4 separate regions of the Homo sapiens genome follow, and all the other regions are linked to region 1. The links are contacts of gene promoters, found by promoter capture Hi-C in blood cells and fetal thymus (Javierre and others, 2016). All regions are on one chromosome and are shown on one strand. Each heading gives the region's core, a stretch centred on a gene start or on the middle of the fragment in contact. The rest is flanking DNA. Distances are from core to core; before and after follow the strand shown. Region 1 holds the start of MID1IP1-AS1 (MID1IP1 antisense RNA 1). Region 2 overlaps LINC01283 (long intergenic non-protein coding RNA 1283). Region 3 has its middle 55 kb from the start of LINC01283. Region 4 has its middle 4.2 kb from the start of LINC01281.

Region 1 (3,243 bases), core at 419-2,918:
TCAAAGTCCTTGGCACGGCCCATGGAACAAGCTCCATTTTTTTGATAAAGAAACTGAGGCTAGAAAAGTTTCTATGTGTGCAGAGAAGGAAGGTGAAATTATTTTAATGCTTCAAAGTTATATAATGCTTCCTGCCTCCCTGTATTTTTCTTTCCATTGATCTTCCTTCAAAACCCTGATAGGTCTATCCCAGTTTTGCAAGTAAGAAAACATGGGCTGTGATGTAGAGCTAATACGTTTTGGGGTAGTGGGTCCTCAGACTTAGGTCTGTCTCCAAGGGTCACTGACTTTGTTTTGTTTTGTTTGTTTTTTGTCAACAGATTAGTCCTTGTGGCACCAAGTCAGAATTTCATTCAAAAGACAATTAGGAAGATGGTTTTCTATGGAAAATATTTAAGTGTAGGTCTTAATGTGAAAGAAAGAGGGAGAGAAAGAAACCCCTTTATTATGTTCTCCCTTCCTTAGGCATTTTTTGTCCCGTGGGAAAAAACTGTACTAGGGACAGAGACCTCTGTTAAGTTTTAGAGAAAAGGGATCTTTTTTTTTTTTATTTGAGACAGAGTCTTGCTCTGTCGCCCAGGCTGGAGTGCAGTGGCACGATCTCGGCTCACTGCAACTCCGCCTCCTGGGTTCAAGCAATTCTCCTGCTTCATCCTCCCGAGTAGCTGGGATTACAGGCGCTGGCCACCACGCCCGGCTAATTTTTGTATTTTTAGTAGAGACCGGGTTTCACCATGTTGGCCAGGCTAGTCTGGAACCCCTGACTTTGTGATCCGCCCGCCTCGGCCTCCCAAAGTGCTGGGATTACAGGCGTGAGCCACCGTTTCAGGCCGAGAAAAGGGATTTAAAATGAGAAGCTTGAATCTTATTGAACATAATTGTAGGACTGCCAGAGAGGACTGGTGGATGAGGAATATGGCAAGGGACATGAGATGGGAAAAATTAAATAGGCTGTGGTTTGGAAGTCTCAAAGTGAAATTCAAGGTGCAAGGCTCTTAAAAGTTAAATCCAGCGATTCGGTACATAGCTTAGGCCCTATTAAATGACCCAGTGCTTTAAGAACTATCTTTTGAAAGGAACACTTCACACAAGCACCCTCAAAAATAATTAGACACCTCCCCATTTCTCTGTTAAATGGTGAAAGACACCCAAGACTAGACCTAACTACTGTCACCCTCTCCTGGCCTCTTGGCAGCCAAAAGGCCACATGGCCCAGGCTCTCCAGCATCACTGTGTAGCCGACTTGGACAAAAATGGACTTCTCCCCATTGCCACTTGCAGATCTCTTCAAAGAATCAGCAGATCTGATAGTGTGCCCCTCTTCATCCCCGGCAACCACTGTTAAAGGAAAGATTGGGAAAGATCCCACCCCGCCAGGAGGGAGGCAAAAGCCTCTGACGCTCCCCTCCCCCCATAGCTGACCAAGGCCAGGGCCACTGCGGGAGCACCGCGCGTCCACGTGCACCCAGCATGCCCGGTCACCCTTTATTACGTAAGAGTCCCAGGATGGAGTTGTACCTGCTGCCGGCCCCTCTTCCCCGACGGCTAATAATAAACCCGGGTTCCTGTTTCCCGGCCGCGGCCACTCCAGATTCGGGGCTGAGGGGCTCACTCTGCAACCAAGGCACGTGCATTCTGGTCATCCCACGCGGGGAGCGCGCGCAAGGCCCGCCCAGCCCCCACATGCCAGCCCCACCCTCCAGTCGGTCCGGACGCCGACGCCTTTTTGACCCTCGCTGTGCCCGGCCCTCCTCATCTGGCCTGCCCAGGGCTTGGTGCTGGCGGGGTCCAGCTGCTCCAATCCCTCCTCCTCTGCTCTGCCCTGCCCTGCCCTGGCCTGCCCCGGCGCCCTCCCTCAGCCCGGGTATCAGGCGAGAGGCGGAGCTGGCCCGGCGCGCCCCGCCCCCGCTGTAGAAAGGGCCGGGCGAGTGTTACTCGCGGTCATCCCGGCCTGGGCCTTTTATCTCGGTGCTGCCGGGGGAGGCGGGAGGAGGAGACACCAGGGGTGGCCCTGAGCGCCGGCGACACCTTTCCTGGACTATAAATTGAGCACCTGGGATGGGTAGGGGGCCAACGCAGTCACCGCCGTCCGCAGTCACAGTCCAGCCACTGACCGCAGCAGCGCCCTTGCGTAGCAGCCGCTTGCAGCGAGAACACTGAATTGCCAACGAGCAGGAGAGTCTCAAGGCGCAAGAGGAGGTGGGTGCCCACGCCCCATCGCTGCCCCGGCCAGCTTGGTTGCTTGAGCTCAGGCTTTTCGGAGGGAGAAGTTGTGGTGGTGGGGGGACACCCTTCTCCCCGCGGCCGTAGGTGGGCGAGGAGGTGGGACTGCCCAGCCGCGGGGAGCCACCCAGGCGCCGTCCCGGACGAGCTGTAGCCAGAGAAGGGGGTGCGCGCGGGCAAGGGCGCCAGGCCCCCTAGCAGGGTGAATAATCTAATCTGTTCTTTCGTCTCCGTGTATCAAACAGGCCAGGGCTCGACCCACAGAGCACCCTCAGCCATCGCGAGTTTCCGGGCGCCAAAGCCAGGAGAAGCCGCCCATCCCGCAGGGCCGGTCTGCCAGCGAGACGAGAGTTGGCGAGGGCGGAGGAGTGCCGGGAATCCCGCCACACCGGCTATAGCCAGGCCCCCAGCGCGGGCCTTGGAGAGCGCGTGAAGGCGGGCATCCCCTTGACCCGGCCGACCATCCCCGTGCCCCTGCGTCCCTGCGCTCCAACGTCCGCGCGGCCACCATGATGCAAATCTGCGACACCTACAACCAGAAGCACTCGCTCTTTAACGCCATGAATCGCTTCATTGGCGCCGTGAACAACATGGACCAGACGGTGATGGTGCCCAGCTTGCTGCGCGACGTGCCCCTGGCTGACCCCGGGTTAGACAACGATGTTGGCGTGGAGGTAGGCGGCAGTGGCGGCTGCCTGGAGGAGCGCACGCCCCCAGTCCCCGACTCGGGAAGCGCCAATGGCAGCTTTTTCGCGCCCTCTCGGGACATGTACAGCCACTACGTGCTTCTCAAGTCCATCCGCAACGACATCGAGTGGGGGGTCCTGCACCAGCCGCCTCCACCGGCTGGGAGCGAGGAGGGCAGTGCCTGGAAGTCCAAGGACATCCTGGTGGACCTGGGCCACTTGGAGGGTGCGGACGCCGGCGAAGAAGACCTGGAACAGCAGTTCCACTACCACCTGCGCGGGCTGCACACTGTGCTCTCGAAACTCACGCGCAAAGCCAACATCCTCACTAACA
Region 2 (3,402 bases), core at 126-2,625, 630 kb after region 1:
GGAAAAGACAGCCATGAGTTTTAGGAAATGTGAAAGAGTGAAATTCTCAGAGGATACACTTGTATATTTAAATATGCAAACATTTAGCTCTGATTTATGGTTTCTGCTGCCCACCCAGCCCTTGTATGCATCTGCATTGGCAACCTCTAATCTGGCCTTTGGTAAGAAGCATTACAAAGAAAAAATGTTTCACTTTGTCATCCCATTACCTGTAGAAGTTCATGGAACCCATCAGCCTTGGTCTCCTGGACAAACAGGCTCAGTTAGCATCCTCACCTGTTTAGGGAGGAGGCCATGATTCTATGACACCATTGCACAGTGTAGACTACCATGTCAGTAAATAGTATCTGCTCCATTTATTGGATTATCACAAGTACGGGTGATAATACCACAAACCTCAAGACAGCTGGCTCCATCAAAGTCTGTGCAGCCATGTGGTACCTTCAACCAGTTCTACTAAACCTTGGCCACACCTTGGAACCACCTGGGGAGCTTTAAAACATATTTTTGCCTGGGTCACATCCCCAAAGATTATTCCGATTTAATCAGCCTGAGATGTGGTCTGGGCAATGACATTTTTTTAAAGCTTCCCAGGCGATTGCAATGTGAAGCCAAGGGTGAGAGTCACTGCCTGAGTCCATCTGATCTGGGGAGAACGCTAGAACCCTGTTACCCAAGGTGTGGTTCTCAGATCAGACCAGCAAGCATCGGCATCACCAGGCAGCATACTAGAAATGGAGAATTCCGCTCACACCTGTAATCCCAGCACTTTGGGAGGCCAAGGCAGGCGGATCACCTGAGGTCAGAAGTTCGAGGCCAGCATGGCCAACATGGCAAAACCCCATCTCTGCTAAAAATACAAAAATTAGCTGGGCATGGTGGAGTGCACCTGTAATCCCAGCTACTAGGGAGGCTGAGGCAGGAGAATCGCTTGAATCCAGGAAACGGAGGTTGCAGTGAGCCGAGCTGAGATGGTGCCAGGGCACTCCAGCCTGGGTGACAGAGCAAGACTCCGTCTCAAAAAAAAAAAAAAAGAAAGAAAGAAAGAAAGAAAAAAAGAAAAGAAAAGGAGAATTCCATATTCCAAGCCCCGTCCCAGACCTACCCAATCAGAATCTGCATTTTGTCAAGATTCCCAGGGGATTTGCCTGTCCAGTAGATTTTGAGAAGCACCGCCTTAGAAACCGTCAGTTTCTGGATCAGCCTCCTCTATTTCCAGATGCAGAAATTGGAAATCAATCACGTGAAATGATTTTAGCCAAGCTCCCCAAGAAGCCAGCTGGAGTCCCAGGTCTCCCATCCTCCAGCTTCAGCCAGATTTCATCCTCTCCCTCAGCTGGACTTCGTGCCATTTTAGAAGGATATCAAGAGTTAGAGGCATAGGTCCCATTTCTGAGTTGCAGAAACTACACAGTTTACTGCAGAATTTCTGGCTTTTTCTTGCTAGGGGGAAAATATGTCTCAGTAAGCTCCATTATGTATTCTGGGTATATGCAATGAGTTTGTCTTGAGACATATTTATGCTTGAGAATATTATGTATTCTCTTTATATACCATGCAAGGTTAAACTTTTTGAAAATTTGTATTTGCTTTTTATCACCCAGACATATAAGCAATTTATAGCCAGGCCTGATGGATTGGAATCAGATGGCAAAACCCGGATTAACCCCATGGATCCTGATGGCCATTGGTCAGTCCTTGCTATCCATGATATTTTCACCTGAGTGAATGCATTAAAGGCTTTCCTTTTAAGATAAATATGCAGGTGGGTATCGTTTTTGCAAAGCAGGCACTTCCTCTTGCTGCTTTAAGTTCATCCAGCACTTTTTTCAAAGACAGACATATTGAAACAGTCATACGCTGAATAATTCATGTGGAAAAATTGGGGGGAGAGCTAAGTAGAGGTGACTTGTGAGATATTCTTACTTGCTGGTGTTAAAAGATGGAGATTCCTTGTATTACATAATTGCTATTCACCAGAAATGCAGTGGTTGAGGCAGGTTAGGGATCCTTCATGAGGCCCCTTTTGCACCAATCCTTCGGTCACTCAACAAACTCTTACTAGTTATCTTTTAGAAATAAAAGATACTCCGAGTACACAGGCATATTTGAAGACCATCATGTAAACTGGCCTGGCCCAGGGAGGTCTGGTAACACACCAATAGAAGCTTCCTGACAAACACAAGACTTTATCACACGTGCACATGCATGGGTGCAGGCACAAACCCCCCAGCCACTAGTGTGATCTATCACCTACAATCTTTGCCAGGCCCAAAGAGGGTCTTTATGTGCAAATCCCTGGCCAAGGGTGGTCCTACAGAACTGCTCAGCATTCACCCAGGTGCAAAAGCCAGCCAGAGGATGAATCATTATTATTTTTTTAATCAAGTAACAGACCCAGGTGTAGCAGCAGCCCAGCTTTCTAATATCACTGTGGCTTTGATAAATATGTCCCATTCCTTGATAACTTTTCCAAATCCTTTAATATCCTGCAGCTCAGTCCCTGATGTCTGGCTGTCGCAAAAATGTGTGAAGGGAGACCAAATGTCAATAAAATCTCCCTGCCTGCCTCAACCCAGTACATAATCAGCTCCAAGGTAAATAAATGGTAAGTTAGTTATCTGCTGCCAGGGAGGGGAGGCCTCTGGGCTTATCTGGCTTTCATTTTTGCCTTCCTATGGAGCTGACCAAAACGTCTTCTTATTCCACTCTCTTCTGGGGGAGGGTGTTGAATTTTTTCCTCTTTTTTCCTTTTTTTTCCCTTTCCCCTTGGAGGGACAGACTGCTTTGCTTTTCTGAAATGGCTGTCCACTTTATGCTTCGCTCTCCTCAACTCCATTAAATCACCTTTCATCACATTAAATACAGGTCTTCAGGGTGGTCAGAGAGCTTCGCTCTGAGGGATGATGTTATAATAAGGGCAACGTGTATGAAAATCATTTTTCAGCTCAATCCCAGGCAGGCCACAAGGAGAGGGGAGGCACTACGTGTGTCTCACTTGAGACAGGAGCCAGGTTCCTGAAGAGATGTTTCATCTATTCCTTCCTTCCTTCATTCATTCGCAAACACATAACAGAGCACCACTATGTGGCAGGTTATAGGAATTTATCAGTGAACAAAAGAGACCAAGATATCCCTTCCCTCATGGAGCTTCCATGAGTAGGACGCATTGGAAAGCCTCTTAGGGAACATGCTTAACATCAGATTCACAGAACAGAAGAGGGGCTGCTTTGAAAAGTTTAAGATGTGGCTGCCTATAAATTGCTCCTACTCCAGTGCCAAAGTGTGGTATTCTTCCAGGAGACACCCTTTCTTTCTAGTTAAACCGTTCTTTTTTTCTATGAGCCATCATTTTTCTCCAAGAGCAATTGTCCTTGGAAGGGATTAGCTGTTATCACTCTC
Region 3 (2,959 bases), core at 207-2,706, 690 kb after region 1:
TAATTCTTAGTCTTAGAGCCAAACTATAGGAGCAGAAATTTCTATCTGCGGCTGGAGGGATTCAGTTTCGGCACACTAAAAAAAGGCCCTGCTTCGGAGGCATTTTTCCATGCATGAATCAAATTATTCCAGCTGGGTTTTACCAACACGTAGGCAATCAAAACCTACTTTCACTTGCTATTTTATTCTTTATTTACTAGTTCTATAAATACTATGATGGGTGTGCTTTTATATTGAGGATGGGGGTGGCAGGCAGAGAGAACAGCTGCCTGCAGCCTTCAGTCCCATGCAGACCTCAGGTTGGTGGGGAGACAGGCCTGCCTGCCTCCTGCCCACCCCAGTCTTTGGGCTTGTGAGTATAGCCACCAGTCTTTCATTTGTCATACCTGTGCAGGGCACCTTTGCCACCCTCCTTTCCTTCCTAGGTTGAGAAGGCCAACCTGGTTTTTCAGAACGGGTACCCAAGTCTGCCAAGGAAACAAAAATAAAATACTCTTAAAATCCAGGGAAGAGGCAGACAAATACAAACTACAGACAATTCTGGCCAAGGCTGGTACATCTGGAAGTGGCATCTGGAGCAAGAAAGGGAACTTAAGATGAGGGGTTGGCCTTGGTGGCCTCCAGCTCTGATAGCTGATGATTTGATGAATTATACTTGCGCTCCAGGCCCCAGTGGATAAACCAGGATTAAGGGGTGAAGTGCCCAGGGAGGCAGATTCTGACTCAGCATCAGGACGAATTTGATAAAGATTAGAGTTGTCTAAAAATGAATTGGGCTGCCTTGGGGGTAGCAAGTGCCCTGTTTCTGCATTTTTTCAAGCATGGGATAACCCTGAGGAGCAGCCACAGAGAAGGGACTCAAAGCTCTAAGGAAGTTGATTTGGTGACAGTTAATGTCCTCTCCAACTCAGGAATCCCACAACCTCCGCTCCAGGGACTCTGAACTTCCAAAGGAAGTGGATGTGCCCCTCGGGCTCTCTGCCACCTTTCCTAAATAGGCATAGCTCCTTCTGCCTATGGGGACCAGAGATCCTCCAATTTGGGCCAGCACAGGGGCACATAAGCAAAGGGAGTCCACAAAGTCATCATTAGGGAGAATATAAGTGTCAGAGGGCAGAAAAGTGTTCCCCTAAAGGTTTAAAATGTGGAAGGCCAGGATATGCAAGCAGGCTCAAAGCTAGGTGGGGAAGGAGGGGACATCCAAGACACAGGCTCTCTCAGCGTCTGGGAAGTTGCCATAGAACAATCAGAGCTTCAGCATGCAAGATATCTTCTTGTTCCCCACTCCTCTTCTCAGAGATTCATTTGCAAGCCACCAGAGTTCTGCGGGGGCTCTTGCCATGTAGCAGTTGTTCTTATTTTGCCAGGACAGAGCTCTTAAGCCAGCAAGGACCTGCAGGTGGGACTCAAGCCACAGGAGCTGCAGGGCCAGTGATGACGTTCCTGCTCAGTGCCGGGGCAGGGAATGCCCACTTCCCTCCATCATCAGCTTTCCCATGTGAGCCATAGCCAGCCTCCAACCTCAGCCCTCTTCTGACAGACTGGGGCTGCCCACAGCTCTGTCAACCCCTAAAGGGCCTTGGGCTTCTGCCTGTCCTTCCAGGCCACCAGTGGCACACACCTGACTGAGACATGGAAGTGGGCCTCAGCATGGCCTGATGGCACTGTGGCCCAGCCATCCTGAATACTCACCTGATGAAGGAGGCAGGAATTCAAGATGGCTGATGTGCTGGGTTGAATAATGTCCCCCTCCCAAATCCATATTCACCCAGAACCTCAAAATGTGGTCTTGTTTGGAAATGGGTGCAAAGGTCCTTTCCCACTGGCGTAAGTCCAGTGAGACAGAACACTCACATAAGTCGAGCAAAGCAGGTTTATTACTCACAGAGTAATAGGCAGAAATAAAAAAGAGAAGCCTAGGACCCACAGTAAGCCAGTCCCCCAAGGCTCAGGAAAGCTGCTCAGGGTGGATGGAGTCTCTTCTGCATGTGCCCCATGTCACGTTGCAGCTGAGGGGCCCTAAAAACACTCGGTCCTGGATTTTATACCTGAACATCACTGGAATTGCTGAGAATAAGCATTACAGGAGAGCCTGTTCTAGAAGGACTGAGGACAGAGCCCAGGCTGTTCCAGACAGTTCTTTCTTATCAGAAGACATTGCATTCTTGGCATATTCTCCAATTATTCTGAGAACTATAAGCTGCTGGGTGGAGGGGAGTTAGGTCAGCCAAGGCCACCTGGGGACCTGTCCTCCTGCAATAGGGTCTTTGTAGATGCAATCAAGTTAAGATGAAGTGGACCCTAAATCCAATGACGGGTGTCCTTATAAGAAGAGAGAAGTTTGGACACAGACACACATAGAGGGAAGATCACCATGTGAAGATGGAATCTCAGATTGGAGTGATGCGTCTGTAAGCCAAGGAGTGCCATGGGTTGCCAGCAACCACCAGAAGCTGGAAGAGTTAAGGAAGGATCCTCCCCTAGAGTCTTCAGAGAGAGGATGGCCCTGCTGGCACTTGGATTTTGAATTTCTGGTCTCCCGATTTGGGAGAGCATCAATCTCTGTGGTTCTAAGCCATCCAGTTTGTGATATTTTGTTACAGCAGCCCCAGGAAACTAATTCAGCCTGCTTGGCTGCCTGCCCCACCCATCCCTAGCTCCAGTGGATTCTGGCTGGGCCTTGGGGCCTCTTGACTGATCTGGATTTCAGTGCATTAGACAAGGGGAACAGGCAGCTTTGCCTCATGGGCGTAGCCCCACAGAACTGGAATGACTGGAACCAAAACCACAAATCTTCTTCCCCCTTTAGTTCTCAAAGGGCCACCATCTCCACCCCCAAGCCCACCTCAACCCTCCAGCCCCTTGGTACAGCCCTGCCATCTGGACCATGACTGTCTTGAAGGTGTCACTCTTGGAAAAAGTCAACAATCTCACATCTAAGGGCACTATTCCCACTAAA
Region 4 (2,992 bases), core at 144-2,643, 530 kb after region 1:
GGCAGTGACTGAAGACACCAGGGATACTAAAGCAGGTCCACTCCTGCAGGACATGGGGACTCCTCTGACAGGCAACCTTGGCTCAAGGACTCTTCATCAGCCTGGCTGGACATTTTCTGGAATTCTGCTACAGTCCAAGACTTTTTCTACCCAAGTCCCCTTCCTTCACTCTCCTTCCACAGGTGTCAGACCTGCATTGCTCTCTGGAGGCTCCACCTGCTCTAGCTCCCTACCTGCTGTTTTACTTGACAGGATTTTCCTCCAATAAATCTCTTGCACTTGTAATCCAGTCTGTTTTTTGGAGGACCCAAATGAACAAAACTAAGCAGGTTATCTATAAGCTTGGAGGGGTCTGTGCTGGAAATGTAAATCTGGAATATAGATGCTTCAGTATTCAAAGTCATGAGACTGTATGCGATCACCTAGGAGTGTAGGTATAGATAAAGAAAAGATGACTGTGAGACTAAACCTTGGAGTTATCTTTGTAGAAGTTGAGTAGAAGACAAAGAGCAAAATTTGTGTCATGAAAAATGAGGTATGGAAGTATTTTAAGAAGCAGGGAGGGCCAGGCATGGTGGCTGGTGCCTGTAATCCAAGCTACTTGGGAGGCTGAGGCAGGAAGATCGCTTGAGGCCAAGAGTTCAATACCAGCCTGGGAAACAGTGAGACCCTGTCTTTACAAAAAACAAAAACAAAATTAATTAGCCAGGTGTGGTGATTTGCACCAGTAGTCCCCGCTACTTGGGAGACTGAGGTGGGAGGATTGCTGGAACCCAGGAGATTGAGCTGGCTGCTGTGACCTGTGATTGTGCCACCATACCCCAGCTTGGGTGACAGAGCAAGACCCTGTCTCAAAAAAATTTTAAATTTAAAAGAGAAGAAGAAGCAGGGAGGGCCAACTGTGTCAATTGCTTCTGCGAGAACCAGCACAATGAGGGATAAGGAGAGTGTCCATTGGATTTGGTAACTTGGTAACTTGGAAATCAGAGCATGTAAATTTGTTGGGTTAGTGTTGAAAATATGGAGGCTTCATGTCATTATTTCCACTTTGTTAACAAAGAATGACATGAGAGCATAAGCTTTTGAGTAAGGAGTTGGGGAAATGTACGTTTGAAGAAAGAGAAGAAAGTGTGAAGTAGGTTTATCAGAGGGCAAATTTAACAAGCTTCCTAAGAAGGCTTGCCATGTGGTTAGAATGCTATTTCGAGGTTTGTGGTTATATATTTAAAGTGCAATCAGTTAGACCATTTGGGTAAAGGTCAACATGGAAAAGGCTGATTTCATTATAAAAGCATGTGAGACAGAGACAAGTGGAACTTTCCAGGACCCAAGGGATAAAAAGCCACCCAAGTTTGGAGAGGAAGTCATTCTTTCCCCATATCTTTTCACTCTAGATCTCAATGCAACTTTGGCACTCTAGCACTTCAGGGTTGGCACTGCCGGAAAGAACTGATGTGTGGTGGAACTGTGAGTATGACCATAGTCCCCAGGGGAACCACATCTTCTCAGCAGCGTTGGAGCAGGGTCCATGAAGAAGAGTCATCTCCTGAATGGTTGACTGGTTGTGGTTCTCCTCTAAGATGCCAAAGTTACAAAACCTGAGTGGACTTCTTCTCACAGTCAAAGCTTTCTCTGAGCAGTCTCAGAAAAACCTGGAGGAAACTTTATCATCCTGTAGCCTTTTCGGTAGAAACAACATGCTGTTGCAACTTAAATACTATGATGGTTAATTGTATGTGTCAACTTGGCTGGATCACAGTGCCCAGATATTTGGTCAAACATTATTCTGGTTGCTTCTGTGAGGGTGTTTTTGGATGAGATTAACATTTGAATGGGTGGGCTTTGAATAAAGCAGATGACCCTCCCTCATATGGGTGGGCCTTATCCAATCAGCTGATGGTTTGAATAGAGCAAAAATCTGACCTTCTCTGACCAAGAGGGAATTCTGTCAGAACACTAGCTTTTTCCTGGGCCTTCAGCCTCTGCTAACCTATCCTGCAGATTTTGGACTTTCCAGCTTCCATAATTGTGTGAGCTAATGCCTTAAAATAAATCTCTCTCTATCTCTGTCTCTGTATCTCTGTCTCCCTCTCTCCCCCCGCCAACACACACCCACCCACACCCACACACATCCCATTGATTCTGGTTCTCTAGAGAACCCTAACACAGATATAAATTCTAGTATGACTTATGTCTTGTCCAATAGTACTGCTATAAAAGGAATACCCGAGGCTGGGCAATGTATAAAGAAAATAAGTTTATTTGGCTCACAGTTATTCATGCTGTACAAGAAACATGGCACCAGCATGTGTTTCTGGTGAGGGCTTCAGGAAGCTTCCACTAATGGCAGAAGGCAAAGGGGAGCTGGTGTGTGCAGATCAATTGTGAGAGAGGAGGCAAGAGAGAGAGAGAGGAGGAGGAGGAATCAGGCTTTTTTTTTTTTTTTTTTTTTTTTTTTTTTAACAATCAGCTCTCACAGGAACTAGAACAAGAACTCACTCATTACCATGAGGGATCTGTCCCTGTGACCCAAACACCTCTCACCAGGTCCCACCTCCAACATTGGGGATCACATTTCAACATAAGTTTTAGAAGGTCAAATAACCAAACCATAGCACCTCATTTGCCCTCAAAGCCTGTGGAGGTCTAAATACTAAAGTTACATTTTTTATATCCAGAACCTGAAGCATTATCACATAAAAGTAGTCTAATTAGTGTTTGTTGAATAGATGAACAGATAGATGGATGAATAAGTAAGCAGAAGGAAGGAAGAGTAGATGGATGGATGGATGGATGGATGGATGGATGGATGGATGGATGGATAACTGAATAGATAATTGGATGATACCGTGGTGGAAAGAGCACTGAGCTTGGAGTCAGATGTTTTGCATTTAATTCCCAATATTGCCGCTTCTTAGTTTTGTGACCTTGAATATTTCTTTATTATTGAAATGGGAATAATAATAAATAACAATACTTGACTTATCAATCC

The links. Contacts are between HindIII fragments. The CHiCAGO score rates a contact against its expected background, and 5 or more counts as called.
Region 2: a contact is called between a fragment that was not itself captured here and the fragment with the promoter of MID1IP1-AS1 in region 1, in 1 of 17 cell types (M1 macrophages). The highest score is 5.0, in M1 macrophages.
Region 3: a fragment that was not itself captured here is called in contact with the fragment with the promoter of MID1IP1-AS1 in region 1 in 1 of 17 cell types (non-activated CD4 T cells); the score reaches 5.4 in non-activated CD4 T cells.
Region 4: a contact is called between a fragment that was not itself captured here and the fragment with the promoter of MID1IP1-AS1 in region 1, in 2 of 17 cell types (non-activated CD4 T cells and activated CD4 T cells). The highest score is 7.1, in non-activated CD4 T cells.

Annotation. Positions count from the first base shown.
Region 1 is chrX:38,802,215-38,805,457 of GRCh38, forward strand. It overlaps MID1IP1-AS1 (MID1IP1 antisense RNA 1), which reads right to left and starts at 1,669. Exons shown (of 2, transcript NR_046706.1): 1 at 1,519-1,669. MID1IP1 (MID1 interacting protein 1) reads left to right here. Exons shown (of 3, transcript NM_021242.6): 2 at 321-2,199; 3 at 2,469-3,243. The coding sequence starts at 2,733. RefSeq lists enhancers at 296-1,137, 1,138-1,979 and a silencer at 1,782-2,001. The HindIII fragment of the contact is 2,492 bases long and covers 856-3,243 here.
Region 2 is chrX:39,429,507-39,432,908 of GRCh38, forward strand. The region is part of intron 1 of LINC01283 (long intergenic non-protein coding RNA 1283); the gene reads right to left. Among named protein-coding and RNA genes, the nearest start is that of LINC01283, 3.6 kb to the right of the region's middle. The HindIII fragment of the contact is 1,582 bases long and covers 585-2,166 here.
Region 3 is chrX:39,487,975-39,490,933 of GRCh38, forward strand. No RefSeq gene overlaps it. Among named protein-coding and RNA genes, the nearest start is that of LINC01283, 55 kb to the left of the region's middle. The HindIII fragment of the contact is 4,259 bases long and covers 1-2,959 here.
Region 4 is chrX:39,330,059-39,333,050 of GRCh38, forward strand. No RefSeq gene overlaps it. Among named protein-coding and RNA genes, the nearest start is that of LINC01281, 4.2 kb to the left of the region's middle. The HindIII fragment of the contact is 461 bases long and covers 1,164-1,624 here.